Regions from separate parts of the Homo sapiens genome. Here region 1 is linked to region 2. The links are contacts of gene promoters, found by promoter capture Hi-C in blood cells and fetal thymus (Javierre and others, 2016). All regions are on one chromosome and are shown on one strand. Each heading gives the region's core, a stretch centred on a gene start or on the middle of the fragment in contact. The rest is flanking DNA. Distances are from core to core; before and after follow the strand shown. Region 1 has its middle 13 kb from the start of OXSR1. Region 2 holds the start of CRTAP (cartilage associated protein).

The links. The method cuts DNA at HindIII sites, captures the fragments that hold promoters and counts their contacts. A CHiCAGO score of 5 or more calls a contact.
Region 1: a fragment that was not itself captured here is called in contact with the fragment with the promoter of CRTAP in region 2 in 1 of 17 cell types (M0 macrophages); the score reaches 5.1 in M0 macrophages.

The regions. Positions count from the first base shown.
Region 1 is chr3:38,149,682-38,154,885 of GRCh38, forward strand. No RefSeq gene overlaps it. Among named protein-coding and RNA genes, the nearest start is that of OXSR1, 13 kb to the right of the region's middle. The HindIII fragment of the contact is 4,731 bases long and covers 1-4,264 here.
Region 2 is chr3:33,111,701-33,117,359 of GRCh38, forward strand. CRTAP (cartilage associated protein) reads left to right here and starts at 2,314. Exons shown (of 7, transcript NM_006371.5): 1 at 2,314-2,848. The coding sequence starts at 2,378. RefSeq lists enhancers at 1-144, 3,025-4,016 and silencers at 2,144-2,443, 2,884-3,073, 4,600-4,748. The HindIII fragment of the contact is 4,978 bases long and covers 1,717-5,659 here.

The sequences.
Region 1 (5,204 bases), core at 649-3,148, 5.0 Mb after region 2:
AATAATTTAAGCAGAAGGGGAAAGTGAGAGGCATATTTAGGAGCAGGGAGTAGACTGGTGGGATAAGACCCTCCAGGTTCAGTAGGAATGACTGGGGGCCCTGGAACTCAGGCTGCAACAGGGAGCATGGATCGTGTCTGGTTAGGAAGGAATTGTTAAAACCAGAGTGTGGAGAAAATTAGTTTAGTGGTCGTACGCAAGACAGATTAGGGAAGTTGATAAGCACAGTAGTAGTTTCTGCTTCAGGCAGCTGCTCAAACAAAAATGAGAAATGAAGTGACTGCTGGATAGGAAGGAGAATCTGGAGTCTCCAGAATTTCCTCCTTCCTCAGATCAAATGGCCCATTCCAGTGTTCCTTGTCCTAAACACTCATGCATTAATTCAACTTGCAATGACCTATCCCTGAGGTCATGAGGGTGGGCCAAGGCCAAGGACATATGAGATAGGTCTCATGTGGCTCTTGTTAAAGGAGATTACTCTGGTTGCTTATCCATAAGTGAAAATGAATGTGTTTTAAAAACAACAACTTCAGCTGCTTCAGGTGTTACCTCTTTCTAAAGCAGGGCTATCCAACAGAAAGATATTCTGAGCCACATACATAATTGAAAAATTTCTAGCAGCCACATTAAAAAAAGTTGTAAGAAACAGTCAAAATTAATTTTAATAACATATTTTATTTAACCTAAGGATCTAAAATATATAGAATATATGTAAAATATCATTTACATAAAAATGTCATCTCTAAAATATTATTTCAACATGTAATCAATATAAAAACTATTGATGAGATTTTACATTGTTTTCACATTGAATCTTAAAAAGGTACTTTGTGTGTATTTTACAGTTACAGCACATCTCAATTTGGACTAGCCACATTTCAAGTGCTCAATCACTACATATGGCTAGTGGCTACTATATATTGGATTGTGCTTCTAAAGAACGCTGCTACTCAAAGTGTGGTCCCTGGACCAGTAATATTGACACCATTTATTAGAAATAAAGACTCTCAGGCCCTACTCCAAACCTGACTCATACATTCTGTACTTTGATAGGAGCCCCAAGTAATTAATAGATATAGAAAGGTTGAGAAACGTTGCCCCATGCATTTGGGAAGAGAGACCTAGGATAATACAGTGTTTTTGGCTACCCACCATCAACATTCCATCTCCTCATTTAGATTCCACGCCACGATTTCCCTCCAGACACAGACCAAAACCAAAGAGCACCTCTCTTTTTTTTTGAGCACTATGATTGGTTCAGGTATGTCATGTGACTTGAACAGATTCAGTGAGACACAATGACTCCTTTGGTAGCTCGACTGTGATTGAATGTAAAAGGTTTTAAATTCTGGAGAGTGATGGGAGGAGAGCCATCATGCTCCAAAGTGGCTCCAGAATTTATATTTGTGTATGAAGGTTTATGTATGAAGCCTGTAGAGAAAACCAGATACTGAAGACATCATGTGAGCCCCTGCTTCAAGACTTACTGCCAGAATTTTCAGATATGTGAGCCAGCAAATTCTCTGTTTGTTTAAAATAGTTTGAGTTGTGTGCTAGATATTATCTGTCTTCTCCTCCACATCTTCCCTTGTTCTCCACCAGCCTCTGTGCCCCAAGATAATGACCTTCAAGGATTACATCAACAGGCTCCCCTTGCCCACTGGTTTCCTGTTGGGCTTGGCCAGTAGGAGGCACCAGTGGGAGATCAGAGAGCAGAAAGAGAATGAAGTGAGGATATTTATTCCCTTGGCTCTCTTCTTGTGGGATTGCTGAGGACTGATTACACCTCTCTACAAAAGGCTGCAGCTACTTTCAGGCAGTCTTCTCTCTCTCCTACTTTCTCTGCTTCTAGTAGGCCTTAGTCCTCTTGCTCTGTCAGGCCTAGGAATGATAATGGCTCCTGGAGGTGGTTGGCCCTAGAGTACTGCACTATTCCATTTGGTTTCCCTATTCCCTGCCCATGACTTTGCATGGCTCTTTGCACCAGGCTTTGTGACCCAAGGTATTGACCGGCTCCCCTTGTCCACAGGTTTCCTCTTGGGCTTGGCCAATGGGAGGCATCAGTGGGAGATCAGAGAGTAGAGAGAGAATACTTCCTTTATTAAACTGTCCTCAAATTGTCCATTTTGAGTGTGCCATTTGTTTCCTGTTAGGACCTGACTGGCATAGTAATTGGTATCAGGAGTAGCCTGGAGCCAAGCCCAGCTGAGTCCAACTTAGATCAGCCAAATACAATCTGATCTGCAGACACTTGAACAAGAAGTAAATGCTTAATGTTATCTACCACTGATATTTTGTGGTTGTTTGTCACACAGCATCTTTGTGGCAATAACTAACCAACGCCCTTTGTATGGTCATATGATTAAGTTATGAGCAATGGGATGTAAGAGGAAGTGATATGTTCAACTTTTAGTCTGTGACCTCAACAGAAAGGTGTGTGCCTGATATTTTCAAAACCTACCCATCTCATGCTGCAGAAATGTGGGTGTGGTGGTGGGAGCTGGAAGCTGCATGTTGAGGATGGCAGAGATGAAATCGGTAGAGCCTGGGTCCCTGACACTACAGAGTTGAACTACCACTCAGGACTGCTTACACTCAGACTTTTATGTCAGAGTGATTTCTTTCCTTTTTTTTTTTTTTTTTTTTTTTTTTAGGCAGGGTCCCACTCTGTCACCCAGGCTGGTGTGTGCAGTGGTGCAATCTCAGCTCACTGCAAGCTCCGCCTCCCGGGCTCATGCGATTCTCCTGCCTCAGCCTCTTGAGTAGCTGGGATTACAGGTGCACACCACCACACCCTGCTAATGTTTGTATTTTTAGTAGAGACAGGGTTTCACCATGTTGGCCAGGCTGGTCTCGAACTCCTGAGCTCAAGCAGTCCATCCACCTCGGCCTCACAAAGTGCTGGGATTACAGGCAAGAGTTACGGTACCCAGCCAAAGTGAAATGCATTTCTATCTGGCCAATGTTACAGCAAGAATGCTGGCATCCTAATGAACTTTGGGTTTTCTGTCACGAGCAACCGAGACAAAATGGGTTTGTTGCAAGCCCCTTGCAGTGCTCCTGCAACCCCAGTCCCTCCATGTCCACTGATAGTCTGCTTCCTGTTCTGCTGTGGGTTCTGCCCACTTTGCTGTTGAACACTGGGCCCATCTTTAGTCTGCCCTGAATCACTACTGCTCCTGTCACAAGGGCTCCCTTTCCTGCTCTACCAATAACTGTGTGGGTGTTTCCAGCTTCACTGAAGGACTAGCTGTAACCAGACAATTCATATGTCTGCTCTGTAACTTAAAGCATAAAAATCATTAGAGTAGGTATGCACATTTATAACTCAGAGGTGAGAAGACAATGTAGCTTCTTTGTTTTGCGTAATTTAATCTTTTGCATGCACCCTTGCCCTGCTGGGTGGGAAGGGGAAATTTAGCTTGCCAATTAATAATATTATCAGATTTTTTTGGTGTCGTTGTGGGTAACTTGATCACTCTTAGGCAAATGCTGTTTTTTAGGCCTCCTTCCCTTCTCCCTTCATCTTGCCAAGATGGTGTCTGGGAGTTTGGGAAAGAGAAGACTCACGTGACCTTGTGGTAGAAAGAAAGAGTTGCCTTGGATCTCTGTGAGCAGGTCCTTGTACTGTCCTCTGGCTCTGGCATGGAGTGCCTGACCTGATTTGATTCCTGACTTGCTATGTGTCACCTGCTGAGATGCAGCGGGCCTCATCTGGCCTTAGGAATGTGATGCCAGCATCCAGCACTGAAGTCTATAGTTCCAACCATTTTCTTTCAGTCACTAAGTCTCACCTCTGTAGGCTTTCATTCCAACTCTCTGTACAGGCCTCCACAACACCTCCCCATGCCTTCATGGGGCACAGGAAGCTCTTTTTCTATCTAGGATTTGAAGGGGTTAAGTTTTTGGGCAGGGCATTCTGTAGGACAGTTATATGTAATTCTATGTCAATATTACACTCATGCTCAACTAGACACTGCAGAGCTAATTGAATTAGCATTTACCTAAGAGAGACCAGGTTACCCATAATAGGAGGATAACGTCTTCACTGCCTGCTGGATGGGGTCCACTGCCATTCACCAGGAAAACGGTGCCAGTTCTGGGGGCCTAGGCCCCTTTGGACACTGGAAAATGATCTCTTTAGGTAGATTGCTCACAGCTGTGCACACGGAGAATCGTTCATAAATATTTGTGAATTGCATTTGATCGAGACTAAGGGGCACTTTAGTTCCCATTTCCTGATGTCTTAAAAATTCCAATTCAAAGCTTACACAGGCAGAGCCCTCTCTAATTTTGGTAGACCCTGAACCCTAATTCATTTGTTCAGGTTGGGTACAAAGCAAAGAAAGCTTCACAATCCACTGGGAATCAAATAGAAAACTTCTATTTCCTTAATCAGATTTTGCAATAAGAAATTAGGCAGTGCCATGGGCAAGCAATGATGCAGCAGTGGTATGGTGTGAATGACATCACACAGATGTCTGTTTTTCCTGTTTTTCCTGAGTAAGCAGACCTGAGTCAAACCATTCAGCATTGTTGCCCAATCTTTGTCTCTGTAATGCTTCATTCTATTTCCATCAACCTATAATTACTGGCTATCCCTTATTCAACACTTAAAATAAGCCAGGCACTGTGCTAAGCATTTCCAGGAATTTCTGGAGCAAGTTTCTTAACATTTCTGAGTTTTCTCATCCGTAAAACTGGCATAAAACTTCACAAGGCTATTTTACTGATTAAATGAGGTGTTTATATCCCTTAGCGTGTTGCCTAGCACTTAAATCTAATGGCTGCTCAGGGCTTTTTATCTGAATTCATGTTATGAAAGTAGGCATTATATTACATGCTGTCTGAATCTATTCAGCTCCTGAGTTCAGAGAGTGGGGGATACCAAGTTATCTGAAAATAAATATGAATATTCAGTTCCTGGGTTTAGATAGTGATGGTACCTGTAGTTTTGAATGTTTTATAAATTATAGCTGCCTCTCAGAGATACTCCTGCCCAAGGCTGAGAGTTGAATAGCATATTTTATGCAGATTTTCCTAAAAAGGGGAGAAAATCAGCTCTTCATAAGTTTTCAGACTGTCATTATGCTGACAGGACTTAAGGTGGGCAAAAAACGAAAACCCCAGAAAAATGCCTTACTTCCTTTCTAGTCATAGGGTATTTCCACTCCTCACAGGGGACCTACAACCTAATTTGAAAT
Region 2 (5,659 bases), core at 1,064-3,563:
AGACTCCATCTCAAAACAAAACAAAAAACAAAAAAAAGACTTTATTTTTTAGAGTGGTTTTAGATTCATAGCGAAACTGAGCGGAAACTACAGAGTTCAAATATACTCCATGACCCTACAACATGCGCAAGCTCCCCCACTGTCAATGTCTTGCACTAGAATGGTACATTTGTTACAATCAATGAACCTACATCAACACATCGTTATCACCCAAAGTCCGGTTTACATTAGGGCTCACTCTTAGTGTTGTACATATTATGGATTTTAACAAATGTATAGCATATATCCACCATTATACTATCATATAGAATAGTTTCACTGCTCCAATAATCCTGTCCTCTACCCATTCATTCCTCCCTTTCCATAATTCTCAGCAACCACTGATCCTTTTACTGTCTCCATAGTTTTGCCTTTTCCAGAATGTCATTTGGCTGGAATCACACAGTATGTAGCCTTTTCAGTTTGGCTTCTTTCAACCAGTAATATGCATTTAAGACTTCTCCATGTCTTTTCATGGCTTGATAGCTCATTTCTTTTTGGCTTGGAATAAAATTCCATTGTGTGTATATACCACAGTTTATGTATCCACTTACCCACTGAAGGACATCTTGGTTGATTCCAAGTTATGGTAATTGTGAATAAAGTTGCTACAAACATCCATTCGCAGGTGTGTGCATAAGTTTTAACCCATTTGGGTAAATACCAAGAAGTGCAATTTCTGGATTGTATGAGTAGAGTATGCCTAGTTTTGTAAGAAACGGCCCAACTGTCTTCTAAACTGTATGTACCATTTTGCATTGCCACTATCAATGAATGAGAGTTCCTGTTGCTCCACATCCTTGTCAGCATGTGACGTTGTCAGTGTTTTGGATTTTGTAGTGGTATCTCATTGCTGTTTTGGCCTATATTTTTCAAAAATGACAACGGCATGACAAGAAAAGCCGAGGAACCAGTTTAAAGGATATGAAATAGACTAGATGTAACAGTGATCACGGATGGACTGCATCCTAAGAGAAAAAAGTGCCATGAAAGACATAATTGGAACAGCTGACATAACCGGAAATGGAACATGATTAAAGTCTTCTATCAGTATTAAATTTCCTAAATTTGATTGTCTGGTAGTTTCATTCTTAGGACATACATACTGAAAGACTAAGGGGTTGGGCACGGTGGCTCACGCCTGTAATCCCAGCACTTTGGGAGGCAGAGGCAGGTAGATCACCTAAGGTCAGGAGTTCAAGAACAGCCTGGCCAACATGGCAAAACCTCATCTCTAGTAAAAAATAGAAAAATTAGCCAGGTATGGTGGTGTGTGCCTATGATCCCAGCTACTCGGGAGGCTAAGGCAGGGAGAATTGCTTGAACCCGGGAGGCGGAGGTTGCAGTGAGCCGAGATCGCGCCACTGCACTCCAGCCTGGGTGACAGGGCGAGACTCCGTCTCAAAAAAAAAAAAAGGAAAAAAAAAAAGAAAAAAAAAAGACTAACGGACAGTGGGCCTGATACATGCAACCTATCTCAAATGAGTCAGAAAAAAATGTAAAGATAGAAATGTGGTATAACGTTAGCAACTTGTGAATCTTGATGAAGGGTATATAGGAACTTTTTGTACTGTTTTTGCAGCTTTCTTGTAAATTATTTCAAGATTTAAAAGTTTAAAGATTTTTTAAAAGTGCTGCCATTAACATTCCATCCATATTTTTTGATGCACACGCGCAAGCTTCTCCAGCATATTCCACCGAATGGTGTTGCAGATTCATAAGGTGTGCACATCTTCAACCTGACTAGCTATACAGTTTACAAAGTGCTGACATCCTTATTAATTTTATTTTTGCACTGTCTTTTTCTCTCACTAAAATTTAAGGTTGGGCAGTGCTATTAAAAGTGCGGCCCTTGGGCCCGCAGCATTAGCCTCATCAGGGTGCTGGTTAAACACACAAATCGTCAGACCTCCACCCCAGACTTTCTGAATCAGAAACTCTGGGGGCACAGCCCAGGAATCTTCGTTTTCACAAACCTCCAAACGAATATAAAGATCGTAGATTATATAGACCGTAGGGCCGATGTATATAATCTATTAGGGCCGCGTCGGCCTTGCAGGCGGGTCTCCAAGTGAATGAGCGGCAGAGTCCCATCATGCGCATCAGCCTGCGTGAACCAGTGCGCAGCGCGCCTTTCCCGGGCACCCTCTAGGTGCTGGCAGCTGGCGCCCAGATCCCCCGGCTGGGTGGGGAGGGGCGGCCGGACGGGGCGGGCCGGAGGCTGGCGTCCCCGCCCCGAAAGCACTGGGCCCGCCGCGTCGCACCGTCCTCTTTCCTTTCCTTCTCCCTCCCCTTTTCCCTTCCTTCGTCCCTTCCTTCCTTCCTTTCGCCGGGCGCGATGGAGCCGGGGCGCCGGGGGGCCGCGGCGCTGCTAGCGCTGCTGTGCGTGGCCTGCGCGCTGCGCGCCGGGCGCGCCCAATACGAACGCTACAGCTTCCGCAGCTTCCCACGGGACGAGCTGATGCCGCTCGAGTCGGCCTACCGGCACGCGCTGGACAAGTACAGCGGCGAGCACTGGGCCGAGAGCGTGGGCTACCTGGAGATCAGCCTGCGGCTGCACCGCTTGCTGCGCGACAGCGAGGCCTTCTGCCACCGCAACTGCAGCGCCGCGCCGCAGCCCGAGCCCGCCGCCGGCCTCGCCAGCTATCCCGAGCTGCGCCTCTTCGGGGGCCTGCTGCGCCGCGCGCACTGCCTCAAGCGCTGCAAGCAGGGCCTGCCAGCCTTCCGCCAGTCCCAGCCCAGCCGCGAGGTGCTGGCGGACTTCCAGCGCCGCGAGCCCTACAAGTTCCTGCAGTTCGCTTACTTCAAGGCAAGTCCGCCTCGCCCCGTCCCAGGCCCCGGCCCCGCCCCTGACCCAGCCTCCAGGCCCTAGCCCCGCCCCTGCGCCCGGGGCCGCGTTGCCCCTCCAGTTCTAGACCTGGCTCCCTCCCATCCAGCCCTGCCAAAGGTCTCCTCCAAGTCCTGTCTCCTTCTTCATCTCAACTAGAGATGAAAATGCCTTTCTTGAAGGGTAACTCTAAGGTAGAGAATACGTACACAGAACGCAGTACAGCGCCAGGCACCCAACAAAGTGCCTGATAAATGTTCTCTGTTATTTGAGGGCAGACGCCTCTTTTCTGTATATACCATTAAAGTCGCCTTTTTTCTCAAGTGAGCGGTGACTTGCGATAATAAAGCAGAAGACCTGAGGAGCCGACAAGTACCTTTTATTTTTATTTTTTGTTGAGACAGGGTCTCACAGTCGCCCAGGCTGGAGTGCAGAGGCGCTATCATGGCTCACTGCAGCCTTGACCTCCTCAGGCTCAGGTGATCCTCCACCTCAGCCTCCTGAGTAGCTGGGATTATAGGCGCGCGCCACCACACCTAGCTAATTTTTTGGTATTTTCTGTAGAGACAGAGTTTCGCCACGTTGCCCAGGCTGATCTCGAACTCCCGGACTCAAGTGATCCTCCCACCTCGCCTCCCAGAGTTCTGGGATTACAGTCGTGAGCCATTGCACCCAGCTGACTAGTTCCTTTTAAAGAGGATGAAATTGAGGCCAGGGAAGGGCAGGGACTCCTTGCAAGGACACATCCCTGCTTAAAGGGGAACTCGTGCACCGTGAGTCATCAGGATTGGCCCTCTCCGCTGTTTCTCTCTTTCATCTAGAATTTAACACAGTTCACTGCCTCCTTTTAATGGCTGCTTAAGTTCTCTCTGTGATTGCTGGCTAAAAATAGCCACAAATTGCAGTTCTCTATCCTATGGGTTCTCACTCCGAGGACCCACAAGTTTTAAGAATGGTTAGATTCCCTGTCACTAGATAAAGAGGCTCTAGCTTGGTGGGTCCTCACAGGGTTTGGCTAAAAGAGCCCTCTCAAAGCCCAGTTTCTACTTTCTCTGAGAAAGATTTTAAAAGGAATATATTGTGTTTTTTAAAATTACTACAAAAATAGATTCATGGCATATCCTAGACTCTTGAGGTAGAAGGTTTTTGTTTTTAAACTTTGTTTTCAGTTTCTGGACTGCAAGATCTGTTTTTTCAGATTTCCACCGAGACAGAGCCACGTGTATATTGTATTTATATGAGCAATAAAATAACACAAAACCCCAAAGAGGGGAAAAGCTGGGTTACTTCTATACTTCTATGCTTAGTTACAGTTTTATTTAAAGTATCAGTTTTGTGAATGTTTGTTCTGGCAATTAAAAAAAAACAGTTTTAAAACAGAAGCAGGGAATGAGATTAATAAAATTCCAGAATGTTGAAAATGAGGGCTGGTTCATACAAAGCATCATTTTTTAAGCTAAAAATGACTTATCTAATTCTTTTTTTGTATAGCTTTTGGCAAATATGTTCTGAACCAAATTTAGGTCACATAATCAAGAGGAAATCATTTTATTTTTAAACCTAGAGAATACTAGAACCTCTGATTTCTTTAATATACAGATGAATTTGAACAAGTGTTACAGGGAAGAGGGGAAGAACATTTTACTCAATGTGACCAAAAGGCATGGGTTTTCTCTTTCATCATGGTGGCCCCAAAAGGTTAGGATGGTCATAGCTTCTCTTCAAAACCCTTTACAGGTCTTGTAACAATCACTTAGTTGAAAGTCAGTAAAATACTATCTATCTATCTGTCTATCTATCTGTTTTTTTTGAGACACAGTTTCACTTTGTCACCCAGACTGGAATGCAGTGGCACGATCTCAGCTCGCTGCAACCTCTGCCTCCAGGGTGCAAGCAATTCTTGTATCTCAGCCTCCTGAGTAGCTGGGATTACGGGCATGTGCCACCACACCCAGCTAATTTTTGTATTTTTAGTAGAGATGGGGTTTCACCATGTTGGCCAGGCTGGTCTCGAACTTCTAACCTCAAGTGATCCACCTACCTTGGCCTCCCAAAATGCTGAGATTACAGTCTGGGATTTGAACCACCATGCCCGGCCACCATCTTAACATTTTGAGATCTCATATAGGGCAGGAAAAAGCTAAGAATTTTATTAATAAACGTGAATGTTACTTAATTGTTTCAATGGAAGATATAACTGAAAAAGTAATTTTTGGTGGAGATATTGTATGGTGTATTTTTTCTCAATGATGTTTATGGCTTGGCATGATGGCTCATGCCTATAATCCCAGCACTTTGGGATGCCAAGGTGGGAGGATCTCTTGAGTCCAAGAGTTCAAGACCAGCCTGGGCAATATAATGAGATCTCATCTGTACAAAAACATTAAAAAATTAGCCGGGTGTGGTGGCGTGCCTTTCTAGTTTCAGCTACTCAGGAGGCTGAGGCTGGAGGATCACTTGAGCCCAGAAAGTCAAGGCTGCAGTGAGCTGTGATCTTACCACTGCACTCCAGCCTGGGTGACAGAACAAGACTCTTGTGTCAAAAAAAAGTGATGTTTACGTGTTTAAACTCTGTTTATGGATAGAGAGGAAAAGATGGGTGGCAGGCACATACATTCTACCTGGCACCTGAAGGCTGGAGGTCGATATGAAGGTAGATAGTGCGCTGTGGCAGGACATGGATAAATGTTACTCTGCTGTTCTGAGTTGCAGTTCTCTGTTTCAGTGATTAAGGAGAAATGCCTCAATTGATCACTGGAATAGCAATGGTGGGTTCCGACTGCCAGAGGGAGG